Linked DNA regions of Homo sapiens: region 2 is linked to region 1. The links are contacts of gene promoters, found by promoter capture Hi-C in human tissues and cell types (Jung and others, 2019). All regions are on one chromosome and are shown on one strand. Each heading gives the region's core, a stretch centred on a gene start or on the middle of the fragment in contact. The rest is flanking DNA. Distances are from core to core; before and after follow the strand shown.

Region 1 (7,528 bases), core at 1,605-4,104:
GCTGATGGGAAACTACTGAAGTTGGCAAACAAAGGAGGCATCTGCATTGTAGGGTGCTCCTTCTGCTGCTGGCAGCGTGGAGGGAAGTGTGGTGGGGTGAGTGGATATGGATAGCTGCTGCTAGGGGTTAGCCAAGGATGTGAGCTGCACCCACAGCACACTTATTTCTGCCTACGATCAAAAAAGGATGTTCAGGCCAGGCATGGTGGCCCACACCTGTAATCCCAGCACTTTGGGAGGCCGAGGCGGGCAGATCACCTGAGGTCAGGAGTTTGAGACCAGCCTGGCCAACATGGTGAAACCCCGTCTCCAGTAAAAATACAAAAAGTAGCCAGGTGTGCTGGTGCGCACCTGTAATCCCAGCTACTCAGGAGGCTGAGGCAGGAGAATCGCCTGAACCCGGGAGGCAGAGGTTGCAGTGAGTTGAGATCGCGCTATTGCACTCCAGCCTGGGCAACAGGAACGAAACTCCCGTCTAAAAAAACAAAAACAAAAACAAAAAAAAGGATGTCCAGTCCTAGGAGCACCTGGAAGGGTATAAAAAGGCACAGACCCAGCAAACTGCCAGGGGTACATGATGGTGCAAAAGCAGGACAGGGAGGAAAAGGGAAGACGTTCTGAATGAGCTTCAGGAAAATCAAGGGTACCCGGCCAGAAGGCAGCTGAGGGGAAATAAGCATAGATTTAAAAGCAGAGAGAGGGCATACCTCCACCCCTTTACTGGCACTGATTCAGAACACATTTTTTGGTCAAAGTATACACAGCTGTATACTTAAGAAGACAATCAAACTAAGCCTCCTCAGGTTATCTGGTCACGGTGTTCTCTGCTATTTTCTCTAGTTTCTGGCTCTCTGATTTTAATCAGAAATACTTCTGATAAGGGCAGCGAGTCCAGATGTCAGCGCGTGACTGCAATTTGTGAGCAGGCATGGCTTTAGGCTAGGACAGGTCTGAGAATCAGCCCTCACTAGATGCATAAAAGAAATGGAGGTGGACCTAGGAAAATTAATAGATGCTGTTCTCTGTACTGTTAAGCATATAAAACAGCATTCTGGACAGATGCTTGGCAGAGAAAAGGAAAGAAGGGCTCTGCTAGAGAGAAGTGGATCTTAAGGTGAGCAGAGTTGGGGCCACTGCACATAAGATTGAGCTTAACTTCATGAGAAGCCAAGGTTTAATGTGACACTGGAATCTCATGGTAGCCATCCTAGAGTGGATTCTCAAGGAGATTCACTGTGGTATCAAAGGGCCCTTACTGTGATGGGTCTCCTGACAAGACCCATGAAGAAACATAAAATTGACCATCTCTTTGACCCAGTTTTCCTGCTTATGAAAGTGGCACCCCAGGGGACAGTTTCAAAATGGGGGGGAGGAGTGTCAGGGAAGTTATCTGTATAAAGATCGATGTTTGTTAAACCATACTAAAAGATGCTTATAGCCACTTCATTCCCTATAGTGAAATAATGATGTACATTAAGCTGATGAACTATTAGGCAACAATTAAAAATAACTAGGAAGCTCGGTTTTAGAAATGTTAAAGAAAGAAGAACCAAATGGTGTGTATACACTGATTACACATTCCATGGAAACCTGTGCAGATCATAAGTTGGACACAGAGATACAAAGCCTTTTCTTTTTAAGGAAAAGGTGATTATTTTTGGAAAAGCAATAAAACCTGGGTTCCCAGCAAAGACAGTGGCACAGTTACCAGACTCACTTGCAACCTGGGAGACCTGGGCTGGGAGCAAGGTCCACTCTTGTATTTTTTGATTTTCAAAAACCGTGAACAACTATGGCTGTGCATGGAGAGGCTGGTGTGGGGTGGGGTGCGGGGAGGTGCTCTGTTCAACCGCAGGGAATAATGACCAAAAAAAAAAAGGCGGGGGGGAGGGGGAAGGAATGCAGTACACCCCACAGAAAATGCTTAAAACCTGGCCAAACTGTTACTAAGCATGTGAGCTTTCAGACTTAGGGAGAATGTGGCAATTAGAAATGTAGTGGAGGGCCGGGTGCAGTGGCTCACACCCGTCATCCCAGCACTTTGGGAGGATGAGGCAGATAGATCATCTGAGGTCAGGAGCTCGAGACCAGCCTGGCCAACATGGGTGAAACCCCATTTCTACTAAAAATACAAAAATTAGCTGGACGTGGTGGTGCATGCCTGTAATCCCAGCTACTCGGGAGGCTGAGGCAGGAGAATCACTTGAACCCGGGGAGTGGAGGTTGCAGTGAGCCACTGCACTCCAGCCTAGGCAGCAGAGCGGGACTCCATCTCCAAAAATAAATAAATAAATAAATAAATAACAAAAACAAAAGAAATACAGTGGAGAAAGAAGCTGTTTCAATTGAGGGTGGAACAGATGCAATATTTCTGGCCACTCCTACCACTGGACAAACACACACTTACTATGAGTGACTATATAGATGCAGCCTGGGATTTACTAAGAAACACCATAACAGAACATCGATAGGCCAGGTGACAGCTTTTCACTACAACACCTTACTTCCTTTGAACATTTGGATTTTCTAGTTTTCCTAGACAATGACCTACACCCATCATATCATTCCTGGCCTCTCGCCCCCAGTACACACACTTTAAACATGAAGATAATGTCCACAGCCCACCGGGGCAAAACACCTCACTCAGCCAGCTAACAGGGGCAGGCAGGATGACTGCAGTAGTTTCATCTACTCTCATTTTTTCAGTGGGTCAATGAATTCCTTTCAGTGATCATCACTCACCTTAGCCATGTAGTTTTTTATAGGAACTGCTTGCCGAATAACCGACTTAGTTCAATTTACTGACTTAAAAGGACACAGTATGGCATGGGCTACTCCAGGTTGTGTTAACTGTAAAGACCAGTACCCATCCCCGTTCCAAATTCTAAACTCTACTACCTCATCTGCATGTCACAACAAGGTCAGCTGAAAACCTCCCTGTGGGCTGCACTTGAGCTTTCACAGGGAATAAACGACATCACAAGTCTGGCAAATGTATGGCTAAACGCAGCAGGAATCTCATGTATATGGATCTGAATGTTCTTTGGGAATTCTGCAGCAAATAAAATGATTTATTGAGCCAATTCAAACGAACTCTATCAAAACACACAAAGGCCTAGAGGAGAGATTACAATGAACGTAAATAATTCAAGGCAATTTTTGATCTAAAGCATTTTGCTTAGCTCTACAAAGGCATGAATGAGGTGTGGTCACGTTTTTGTATAGGAGGTTTTGCCACTACTTGCTCCCAAGTTAAACATGGCCACAGAGTATTGTGAATGTTTAATGTATGCCTGGGAAAAATTTATTGGCCAATACTTTAGTTACTAATGGGAGGATTATGTATAGTCGGACCATAAAGCGTGTAAAAGCAGATCACTTAGAGCCGCTCTGTCCAGGACAGCAGCACTAGATGCATGGGCCCTTTGAGCACCTGAAATAAGGTTAGCATGACTAAGGAACTGGGTTTTATTTTTTCAAACTTGATGTTCAATTCAGTTACTGAAAAACTTTACTATGTTTAACTATCTTTGGAACAACTTGGATATGAATTTGTGTTTTTCAACTGCATATTTTACAAAATCTAAATACAGATCAAGTATTCCTGATGAAACGTTAGCATCCAAATTATGCTATAACCAGATACACAGTGAGTTTTGAATTCTTAGTGTGAAGAATAATTTTAGATCTCACTAATAATTTGCATATATTGAGTACATATTGAAATATTTTGGATATGCTGAGTTAAATAAAATATGTTATAATTTCACTTTTTAAATATGGTTGCTAGAAAATTGAAAATGACACTCTGGGCTTATTTTTTTTTTTTTAATTTTGAGACGGAGTTTCACTCGTTGCCCAGGCTGAAGTGCAATGGCGCAATCTCAGCTCACGGCAACCTCCACCTCCCAGGCTCCAGCGATTCTCCTGCCTCAGCCTCCCAAGTAGCTGGGATTACAGGCATGCGCCACAGATTTATTTTTTATTTCTGTTGGAGTGTGCTGTTTTAAGAGTATGGAGCTGACATTTAAGAATTCTAATGCCATCTGCTGGATACACTGGTACAAGACAGGCCCGTGTCACAGTAAGACTGTGATGGTGTGTCAATACTCAAAGAACTGGATCTGAAACAGAAAAGGGCTCACAAAACACTGAACTAAATTATACTGTTAAGAGGGGATTATAAATAGGTTTATTTAGTTTTTGAAATCCCAGAGAAAATGTGACTCACAGTTATCTTCAGATAACAGTGACCATGAGCCAACGAGCATAACTGCTTCGCCGTCCACCCGGGTGCTGCAGGCATGGATGTGGTCACCTGGGATGGACCCTTTGTGATGCTGGCTCCCACACCTACAGCTCTTCCTGCTGCCTGCCTTGTCTCTGTCTCCCTTCTCCTTTCTACTCCACAGTCAGCCTCAAGTCCTTCTGCTCTGGGTTACACACACATCCTCTTTCCATCTTTCTTTGTCTATTCATTGTTTTTTTTTTTTTTTTTGAGACACAGCCTTGCTCTTGTTGCCCAGGCTAGAGTGCAGTGGCGCGATCTTGGCTTACTGCAAGCTCCGCCTCCTGGGTTCATGCCATTCTCCTGCCTCAGCCTCCTGAGTAGCTGGGACCACAGGCACCTGCCACCACGCCTGGCTAATTTTTTGTATTTTTAGTAGAGACAGGGTTTCACCGTGTTAGCCAGGATGGTCTCGATCTCCTGACCTCGTGATCCGCCCGCCTTGGCCTCCCAAAGTGCTGGGATTACAGGCGTGAGCCACCGTGCCCAGCTGTTTTCTTTCTACCCTTTCTTTTTTCTATTTTTCCTATGATTCTAGCATGTCTAATAATTCTATTTTTCTTTTTAGTATTCCAATTTTTCTTTTTGTCTCCTCCCTCTTTATCCTACAAGCTGTTTCAGTAGGTTTTGTAGTTTTAGCTCTTACATTTAGGTCTTTGATTCATCGTGAGTTGATTTTTTGTATGTGGTGTGAGGCAGAAGTCCAAACCCATTCTTTTGCATGGAATATTCACTTGTCCCAGAACCATTTGTTGAAAAGACTGCTCTTTCCCCACTGGATGGTCCTGGCACCACTGTCAAAAATCAATTGACCACGGATATATGTTTTATTTCTGGACTCTCGCCTCTATTCCACTGATCTATGTGTCTATTCTTATGCCACTACCACACTGTGTAGATTATCGTAGCTTTGTGGTCAATCTTGAAATCAGGAAGTGTGAGTCCTCTTTGTTTTTTCTCTAGATTGTTTTGACTATTCTGGGTTCCTTGCATTTCCATGTGAATTTTAAGATTAGCTTGTCAATTTCTGCAAAAAAGGCAGCTGGGTTAGTTGGTTTTTATGTGTATTTATTAAAAAAAGCAATTACCCGATTAGGCTGACAGAATGATTAGGCTGACCATTAAAAGGACTGGCAACTTTATCCTCAGAGTTTAGAGGTAAGTTTGTAAGAATTCAGGATGTTTGTCTAAGATTGCTTGATACTAGGGCAACAAGACTGAGAGCAGAGGGCACTAAAAAGACTGTCTAGGGGTTAGACATCAATTGTGTTTAAGTCTGAGATCTGCCCCTTAGGTACCATATGACCCTGCACAAGTCATCGACCCCTCCACACTCCAGTGTGTCATCTGTAATGAGGATGGGGCACTCCCTTCCACACTGCAGCACTGCGGGAACCGAGACAATGCCATCGCAGAGGACCTGCAGGGGACAGGCTACTTCACTCACTCCTCTCCTTCCCACTCTTCAGAGAACAAGGACTTGTGCTACTGTATTCTCACAGCACTCACTGGCCTGGGAACCAGCTGTGGGAGCCCTATGGGCCTGGTCATCAACTCTCAACTGCTTGTGTGCAGCTGTAGGAACCCTCTGAGGTGTGGCAGGTAGAGGATGGGGTGGGTGCCCAGGCACACTGCTGACTTTCTGGAGCCCTGCCCACCCCCAACCCTCTCCTTATTACTAATGACACGGGAACCCACCTGCTCCACTGTGCAGCCCCAAGTCTGATCCAAGTCAGGCTCCTGAATGTGAGGAAGCCGAGCATGGGGGCGACAGGGAGGTGGGATGCACTGAAAAGCTCTAACCATTGCCGCTAAGGCACATCAGTCTCTGACCAGGTCCAGCAGCCTCCACGTACGTCCCAGTCCTTCAACACACATTTACTGAATGCCCACTGCACACAGGAGTGTAGGTAATAGCATGGTATGACAGTAAAATTAAGTAAACAACTCCCACTTCTACCTTTCTGGACTACGAAGAGCTCCTCCTGGTCTTCCTTATCATTTCCTATGTGATTACTTCCGGGTCCTCTTGGAGAACAGAGCATTTTGCCTCCCATGCAGTTTTCCACTGCTTGACAGGGAGAAATTCCTCGTGACCTATGGTCCATCGGCTGATCTGGAAGCTGAACCCTTGGAATAAAGACACCTGCATGCTCGGATTTGCAAAAGGAATGGAAAAGAACCCTTAAATATGAGTAAGTCGTGGGAGTAGATATGAAACAGGGTTATAAGCACATCTCAGTGTCTAATTTTACAGAATAAATACTTCTATTCTATCGCAGCTCACATGTAAATCCAGGTAGGTATGTCCCTATCCCACTTAGAATAAAATGAACAGCCAAGTGGCCAAAGTTTCCATAACTTTCCTCCTTGCTGACAAATCCAACCCGAAGTCTGTGCCTCCTAGGGAAAGGACAGGACAAAGGTACAATTCAGTTCCTAAAGTTATTTCTCCCTCTGGGAGAGAAAGGCACTGTCAAAGTACAAACCCAAGTCAGCGTGCTTTGAAAGATCATGTCACTTGTTTGTAATAGGAAATCATGTCATCCAGAGTTTTGAAAGTAACTGTGGGGGCTTGTGGTGGGTTGTCGGGGGCAGGAGTGGGTGACGTATGTTCAGGGCTAGGTCCGTGGCTCTGGTCAGGGCACTGCCCTGGGTCACTCTGTGCTGGCCCAGGTCTGCTCCATGCCTGGCTGCTGGAAAAACCAGTTCTCTTCTGACCCACAAAGTAATCTGACGGCGGGGCAAACTCAGGATCTCTCTCAGCCCGGAGATCTGACTGCCTCTTCGACCAGTATCCAAAGGAAAATTCTGGTAAAAATAAGAAAGAAAGTTATTAGAACTGATTAACGAATCAGTTGAATTTATTGTTACTATTATCTAATTGTATCATATATTTCTTAAAAGCCACCACAAATTATCCAAAGAATAAGAATGGCAACAGCAAAACTATATTACAAGGTATAAGTAATACCTACAACGAGTATAAAAGACCAGGCTAAGAAAAGGGAGTGACTATCTCTAGATGGGGAAATACAGAAAAAGAGAAATACAGACAAATTATCTGCTTGACATGACATTGTAGGTATTTCATACCAAAATACAAATTTTGTCCGTTATTGAGTTTTGGAAGACACAAAAGGGAACTGTCCAACCTTGTCTGGTATTTCATCTCTATTTCTAACAGTGGCTCTTGCATTTCTCTTACTTTAGCTTTGGATCTTATCAGCTCAGACAGCA
Region 2 (7,528 bases), core at 1,482-3,981, 410 kb before region 1:
ATGGGAATCTTCATTCATTGAGTTGCTGTTTCTGTGAAACCCACTACAGACTAGGTACTATGCTAGGGGCCAGGGATACAGTGGTCTATAACAGGGATTGGCAAACTTTGTAAAGGATCAGATAGTAAATACATTTAGGCTTTGTGGGCCACATATGGTTGCTGTGACATTTCTTCTTTCTTTAAACAACCTTTTAAAAATGTGAACACTAGACTGGGCACAGTGGCTCATGCCTGTAATCACAGCACTTTGAGAGGCCAAGGCAGGCGGATCACTTGAGGTCAGGAGTTTGAGACCAGCGTGGCCAACATGTTGAAACCCTGTCTCTATAAAAATACAAAAATTAGCCTGGCGTGGTGGCATGTGCCTGTAGTCCTAGCTACTCAGGAGGCTGAGGCAGGAGAATTGCTTGAACCTGGGAGGTGAAGGCTGCAGTGAGCTGAGATTGAGCCACTGCACTTCAGCCTGGGTGACCGAGCGAGACTCCCATCTCAAAAAAATAAATAAATAAAATAAAATAGCAATGTGAAAATTATACTTAGTTTGAGAGCCATATAGAAACAGCCTGGAGGCTGGACTTGGCTCACAGGTCATTTTTTGCCCATTTCTGGCCTATAAGCCTATAAGGCATTGTCCATTCTTCCAAGGAGTCTAGCATCTATCAGGGGATATAAACTCACAAATAAATAATTGCTTTCTAAAGAGAGATGTACAATGAAAGAGACTGTCAGGAACTCAGGAGAGGCTGACCAACTCTTTGTCTGCTCTGCTTGGAAGTGGCAAGTGTGACTTTGAGAAGAGGGTCTTGAATATAAGCAGTGGGCTAGTCCCTTCCTGTGGGATAAGTCACAGACAACTCACTGCCATATAGAAAAGACTAATATCATAATATGAGAGATGCTGAGTGCTGTGGGCTCAGGGACAGTGAGAGCATGCATGCTTAGGGCTGGGAGGTGATGTTCAAGAAGAGCCTTAAAAGATGAGTAGGATTGCAAAAGAGATGGAGAAAGAGGACATTTTAGGTAGAGTGAAGAGTAGGAGCAAAGGCATGGAATTCTGGAAAGCCCAGGGTAGGTTAATAGATGAGCAAATAGAATAGTTGGGGGTGTGTGGAGGACAAAGTTTAGGTGGAACCCGATCCTCCAGGACTTTGCAACCAAGCTGAGTAGAAGTTGCTGAAGATGATCTCATTGGCTTCTGGGAAGTTTGGGGTAAATTTGCAACACTAGAGAGTTCTGCTGACTGTGCACACTGTTGGCCATGGGGTGTCTGGATAATGTGGGGACAAAAACAGATGCTTCTTCTTTCCAACTCTCACATATACCAGGTCACTGTACCTTGATACTTTCTCCCTGAGACCAACTCCCTGTCTCACATGAGATTTTATAAGCTGCCTTTTTGGGACACTATTCACCCTTCTTCTCTTGAGCTCTTTAGCCAGCATTTACTGGGCAGCTGCTGTGGGGTGGCCCTGCTGGATATGTTAAGTGTACAAGTGTGAGTAAGACACAGTTCGTACCCACAAAGAGTCATAGGTTCCTAGGGCAGCTCTGGGGTGTACATGCAACTGTACACAGGGAGAAGAGTGGAAAGTGCTCCAAAATGGGCAATGTGGTGGGAACTGATGGGAAGGATGGATAGTTTTTGCCTCAGGGAATTGGAAAAGGCTTTCCTGGAGGACCTGCCATTCAGAGAGGGTAGGAGCCAGATGTTTGGGAATAGGGAGAAGGCTGTGGAGGAAAGTCTCCTGGGAGAATGTTTGTTGTGTTGGAGGCACAGGGCAAATGCAGGAGAGTGGCAGGTGGAAAGGGAAGGCTGTTTGGATTTGGAGGGGCAGCAGTGGAGTCCTTTCTCACCAGAGTCTGACACCAGGAAGGCAGAGGGGCAGTACGTGCCCACAGCTGGAGCCTGATCTTATTACTCTCCAAATCAAACACCTGTGGACTGACACCTTGAGGTCGTGGGTATGGTAATTGGATGCTGTGGGGGTCATTGCTGCCTGTTGGTGTTGTGGTTACAGACAAGCTCACCAGTGCCAGCAAGGAGTCCCTGAGCACCCACACCAGCCCCAGCCAGTCACCCAACAGTGTCCATGGCTCCCGCCGAGGCAGCATCAGCAGCATGAGCAGTGTCAGCTCGGTCCTGGATGAGAAGGACGATGACCGGATCCGCTGCTGTACACACTGCAAGGACACGCTGCTCAAGAGAGAGCAGCAGATTGATGAGAAGGAGCACACACCTGACATCGTGAAGCTCTACGAGGTGATTCGCGCTGTCTGGTCTTGGGTCTAATTTCTTAGGCAGATTTGGCTGTTTGTTATGTACACTCCTGCAGATTCTGGAGAATGCTTTGGGAAGTTGTTCGTTTGAATTATTTGTAGTTCCTGTTAAAGGCCCATGTTATGATTTCCCAGCTAGGGCCCTGTGTGAGTCAGAGTCATCCTGGGTGTGTTGCAACAAACTCGTTTCAAGTGGCCTTCCTTGGCCACTTGAAAGCAGGTGGGTGGAAGCTTTGGTGGCCCAGAGGCAATAGGAGGAAGGGCAGTTGCCATGTGGTGTAGACAGGTTCTGTGGGAAGGGCAGAAGCTAGAGATGTTCATAAACAGTGGGCCAGAAGAATCCTGGGAAACTCACTTGGGAGTGTTAGACTTTACAAGTTTTAGAAAGTTCTACAAGTTTTCAGGCTTCACCAGTTTACTGAGTGTCCCCTTCTAAGTTTGTCCAAATGCCTCAGCTGTCGTTACTTGAGTGATCCCACAGCCCCCCTACTAGATGCATACTCTGAGAGGAAATAGTGTGCAAAGAATATCTGGGAGTGAGACTGGCTTGGTCCCTTAATGGCCAGGTGAGACCTGTGAGCTGAGGAAGACTAGCCAGGTGGACTGGGTGGGGAGGCAGTAAGAGATGCAGGGAAGAGATCAGCCCAGGCAGAGGAAGCAGCTTGTGCAACATTCTGAACAGAGGAAGAGTGTAATTTTGCCTAATGACCACTGAATAGTCATTGTTAGTAGTTCTGCAGGTCATAATGGCACTGTTTCTGGAATCCCTATGTAAATACTCAGGCTACTAGAAATGGTGTCAATTAAGCCCCATGTTGGGTTGCAGATGTAGCATTCTCCATCCTTTGTGTGGAGTTCACGACCTGGTATCTCATTTCTGTGAATACCCACGGTGCTTGTGCCACCTCCTCTTTTGAAGTAAGCCCTGGCAATGCCTTGTGCTGGTTTCCCATTGTTGCCTGGCATCACTTGGCAGAGAAAGAAAGTAGCAGCTAATTCCTTTTTGTCTTGGTAGACACCTTGGCTTGTGCCCTGGAAGCCTTGCTCCTCTCAAAAACATCTCGCCGGGCACTTTGGGAGGCCGGGGCAGGCAGATCATTTGAGGCCAGGAGTTCGAGACCAGCCTGGCCAACATGGCAAAACCTCGTCTCTACTAAAAATATAAAAATTAGCCGGGCGTGGTGGCAGCGTGCCTGTAATTCCAGCTACTCAGGACGCCGAGGCATGAGAATCGCTTGAGCCCAGGAGGCAGAGGTTGCAGTGAGTGGAGATCGCGCCATTGTACTCCACCTTGGGTGACAGAACAAAATTCCTTCTCAAAAAAAAACAAAACGAAACATCTGATCAGAAGCTCCATTCTCACTTTCTTTCCTTCCTACAAAATTTTCTGCTTGGAAAGTATGCCTATAAATCAGGAAATTGATAACAACAATTAATGTGTTAGAAAAGTGAACATTTTAAATATAGCTCCATTGATGGAGCCTAGCTTCTGGGTAGGTGTTTCTATATCTTGAGCATACCACTTACCTCTTTGTTTTTGTTCTTAGAAATTACGACTTTGCATGGAGAAAGTTGACCAGAAAGCTCCAGAATACATCAGGATGGCAGCATCATTAAAGTAAGCTATTCATCTATGTTTTTCTAATCCAGTGGTGACTGTTTTCTGGCATTTTAGGTCAATTCTCCAGTAGCCAAAAATGAAAATCTTAACTTCAACCGTGCTTTTTTTCTGAGACCAGCTGAAGTTGGTTTTTTTCCACTTTTGGCTATTATGAAGAGAATCATCTTCATGTCTGTCTTTTAGTGGGGTACAGGCTACCATCACATGAGCTTGTAGAAAGACAGCCACATTCAGTTGACCTTGGCTATTCTGACTGAGCAGGTTTGGGAAGGGCCTCAGACAATAGGTACTGCTGCTGAGTGCAGCATCTGGACAGAGCAGAGGAAGGGCAGTGGGTCTCATGCTCATGTCTGGGTAGATGCCACTTGAGTGTCACATTGAGGTGTCAGGGCTTAAAGCAGGCATGACCATTAGAGCAGGGGCTGGCAGACTGCAGCCCGTGGGCCAAATGTATCCTGACATCTGCTTTTTTTTTTTTTTTTTCCGAGACGGAGTCTCACTCTGTTGCCAGGCTGGAGTGCAGTGGCGTGATCTCGGCTCACTGTGACCTCCACCTCCCAGGTTCAAGCAATTCTCCTGCCTCAGCCTCCCAAGTAGCTGGGACTACAGGCACGCACCACCACGCTCAGCTAATTTTTTTATATTTTTAGTAGAGACGGGGTTTCACCATGTTGGCCAGGATGGTCTTGATCTCTTGACCTCGTGATCCACCCGCCTTGGCTTCCCAAAGTGCTGGGATTACAGGCGTGAGCCACCGTGTCTGGCCAACATCTGCTTCTTTTTTAAAATTGAGATGTAGTTCACACACCCTAACCTTTACCCTTTTAAAGTGTACAGTTTGGTGGTTTTTAGCGTATTCACAAAATTAGCGAACATTACCACTGTCTTCATTGTAAACATTTTTATCACCCCAGTAGGAAACCCCATACCCATTAGCAGCCACTGCCCTTTCCCCATCTCCCTGGACACCACTAATCTATTTCCTGTCTCTATGGATTTGTCTGCTTTTGACATGTCATATAAATAGAATCATAAATATAAAATCTCTCTTGTCTGGCTTCTTTCACACAGTGTACTGTTTTTCAGATTCATCCATGTTGTTGCATGTATCAGTACTTCATTCCATCTGTATGAATGCATTGCATGGATACTTGTCACATTTTGTTTATCCATCAGTTGATGAACATTTGGGTTTTTTCCACTTTTGGCTGTTATAAATAATGCTTCTGTAATATTTGAGTACAAGTTTTTATGTTTTTTGTGTAGACATGTTTTCATTTCTCTCGGGTAGGTACCTAGGAGTGGAATTGCTGGGTTTTATGGTAACTATATATTACCATAGAGTAACATTCCATAGAGGAATTGCTAAATCGTTTTGTGGAATGACTGCACTATTTTGCATTCCCACCAGCAGTGTATGAGGGTTTCACTTTCTTTATAGCCTTACCAACACTAGTTATTGCCACCTGTTTGCATAAAGTTTTATTGGAACACAGCCATGCCCATGTTTGATTACTGTTTGTGGCTGCTTTTGCACCACCATGACAGAGTTGAATAGCAGCAACAGAGACTGTGTGGCCTGCAAAGCTGAAAACATTTATGATTCGGCTCCTTATGGAAAAAATTTGCTGATCCCTGCTTAAGATCGTTGCTTTTTCTGAAGCTTAGTGTTTGTAACCTAGAAGTTAAAGTGCTAACTACTAGAGTCAGATCCCAGCAGTGTTTTCCCAACCTGTAGGAAAAGAATTAATTATGGTATCTAGTGTTATTAATTTCAGAGTTTTCTGTCTTTGTCTTAAACCTGTGTTGCCTATCTGCCACATTTAAAGCGATGCATGTAGTAGTAGATGTGCCTTTTTTAAAAACAAAACCATGTGTATATATATATTTAAAACAAAACCATGTATATATATATATATATATATATATATATATATATATATATATATGTATTTTTTTTTTTTTTTTTGAGACCGAGTTTTGCTCTGTCGCCTAGGCTGGAATGCAGTGGTGCGACCTTAGCCCACTGCAACCTCCGCCTCCCAGTTCAAGCAATTCTTCTGCCTCAGCCTCCTGAGTAGCTGGGATTACAGGCACCCACCACGATGCCTGGCTAATTTTTGTATTTTCAGTAGAGATGGGGTTTCATCATGTTGGCCAGGCTGGTCTCGAACCTCCTTGGGTACTTTTGAGCGAGAAAAGCCAAGTAGCTTTCTGCTCTTAATGTAGTGTAACCACTTCTTACATCTTGTTAGATATAGTGGAATTGTTTAGGAAAAGTAGGCCAGAGTAAATTCAGCCGCATTTGTTTTGGTGATGAGCATAAGGGCTAGTCCTTGGAGGCCTTGGCATGAATCTGTCCCTGTTGCGTCTGCAAATCGAAACATCACTTCCACTTGATTCATTCATTCCAAGAGATGGACACTGCATTATATCTGAAAGTCTGAAATGCCACCTTTAGAGAATTAACTGCCTTTGTGAGGCCTTACACCTTTAGCGTCCTTCTACACTATGCTGTCCAATCTGCACCATGAAACTTAGGTCACGTGTCTCTGGTTTCTCCTTAGTGCTGGGGAGACAACCTACAGTCTGGAACATGCCAGTGACCTTCGAGTGGAAGTGCAGAAAGTGTATGAGCTGATAGACGCTTTAAGGTAAGGTCCATTAAGTGGTATCCTGCCCGCTGGTGGAATGGAGAAGATGCTGTTCTAATGAAATGGCGAAAGCAGACCTGCACTCACTCAGACTTCTGGTGATGGGGCAGTGGGTGAGGAGGAGGGCAAGGAAGGGGCCAGCTCTGGCACTTAATGCATCTCAGTGACTTTTGTTTCGTTAAGGATTTCTAATGTTTGCTATTATTAAAGAAAGAGGAGCTGGTTATTGACACCTATCACCTGCCAGTCACTGGCTGTTTTCTCTAGAATAGCTCATTTATTCTACTGAAGTTACCCTGTGAGGTAGGGATTAACATCCTGTGTCAAAGGTGAGGAATCATGTCACAGATAGCAAAAATTGTGGAGTGAAGATAGAAACTCAGGTTCTTTCTTTGTGTCTGTGCTCAAGTCCACAGCTGCTTTTTAACTGTGGACTGGCCATTGGGGTTAAATTAGCCAGTGACTCAGAGGGAGAATAAGATGAGGTGCCTTTGTCCATCCAGACATACAGCAGGAGTTCGTAGTTGCAGGGCCTGGTACAAAATGAAAATGCATGTCCCCTGTTCAAAAGTTATTAAGAATAAAGACACTAACAGCAGAGCATTAAACCAAGCACAGGGCTCTTTTAAGTGCCAGTCCTTTCCAGTTGCATAGGTTGCTCACCTGTGAAGCTGGCTCTGCATGTGTAGTCAGTCACTCCATAACAGTGTTGTGCGCCCTTTGCTAAGGCCTGTGTACAGCCAAAGGGTAAGAAATGGGCTTTGCCTTCAAAGAAACTTCAATGGAGTCACTTGTCCATCTTTACACACCTTCCTGGCATGAAAGCCTGGCAACTCCAGATGTTATACTTTTCACCCTTGTTTCTGAAGCTGGCAGTGCTCATTATATTCATGTGTTTGTTCCAATTCAGTAAGAAGATCTTAACCTTGGGCTTGAACCAGGACCCTCCACCACATCCAAGCAATTTGCGGCTG

What was found. Contacts are between HindIII fragments. The study calls those that stand out against the background at their distance.
Region 2: a fragment that was not itself captured here is called in contact with the fragment with the promoter of C3orf20 in region 1 in 1 of the 25 tissues and cell types used here (spleen).

What each region holds. Positions count from the first base shown.
Region 1 is chr3:14,670,467-14,677,994 of GRCh38, reverse strand. C3orf20 (chromosome 3 open reading frame 20) reads right to left here and starts at 2,854. Exons shown (of 17, transcript NM_032137.5): 1 at 2,743-2,854. CCDC174 (coiled-coil domain containing 174) reads right to left here. Exons shown (of 11, transcript NM_016474.5): 11 at 5,340-7,099. The coding sequence ends at 6,801. RefSeq lists enhancers at 4,293-4,342, 5,668-5,877, 5,812-7,011. The HindIII fragment of the contact is 10,656 bases long and covers 1-7,528 here.
Region 2 is chr3:15,077,101-15,084,628 of GRCh38, reverse strand. It overlaps RBSN (rabenosyn, RAB effector), which reads left to right. Exons shown (of 14, transcript NM_022340.4): 9 at 2,021-2,262; 10 at 3,827-3,897; 11 at 6,468-6,554; 12 at 7,465-7,528. Among named protein-coding and RNA genes, the nearest start is that of MRPS25, 16 kb to the right of the region's middle. The HindIII fragment of the contact is 8,610 bases long and covers 1-7,036 here.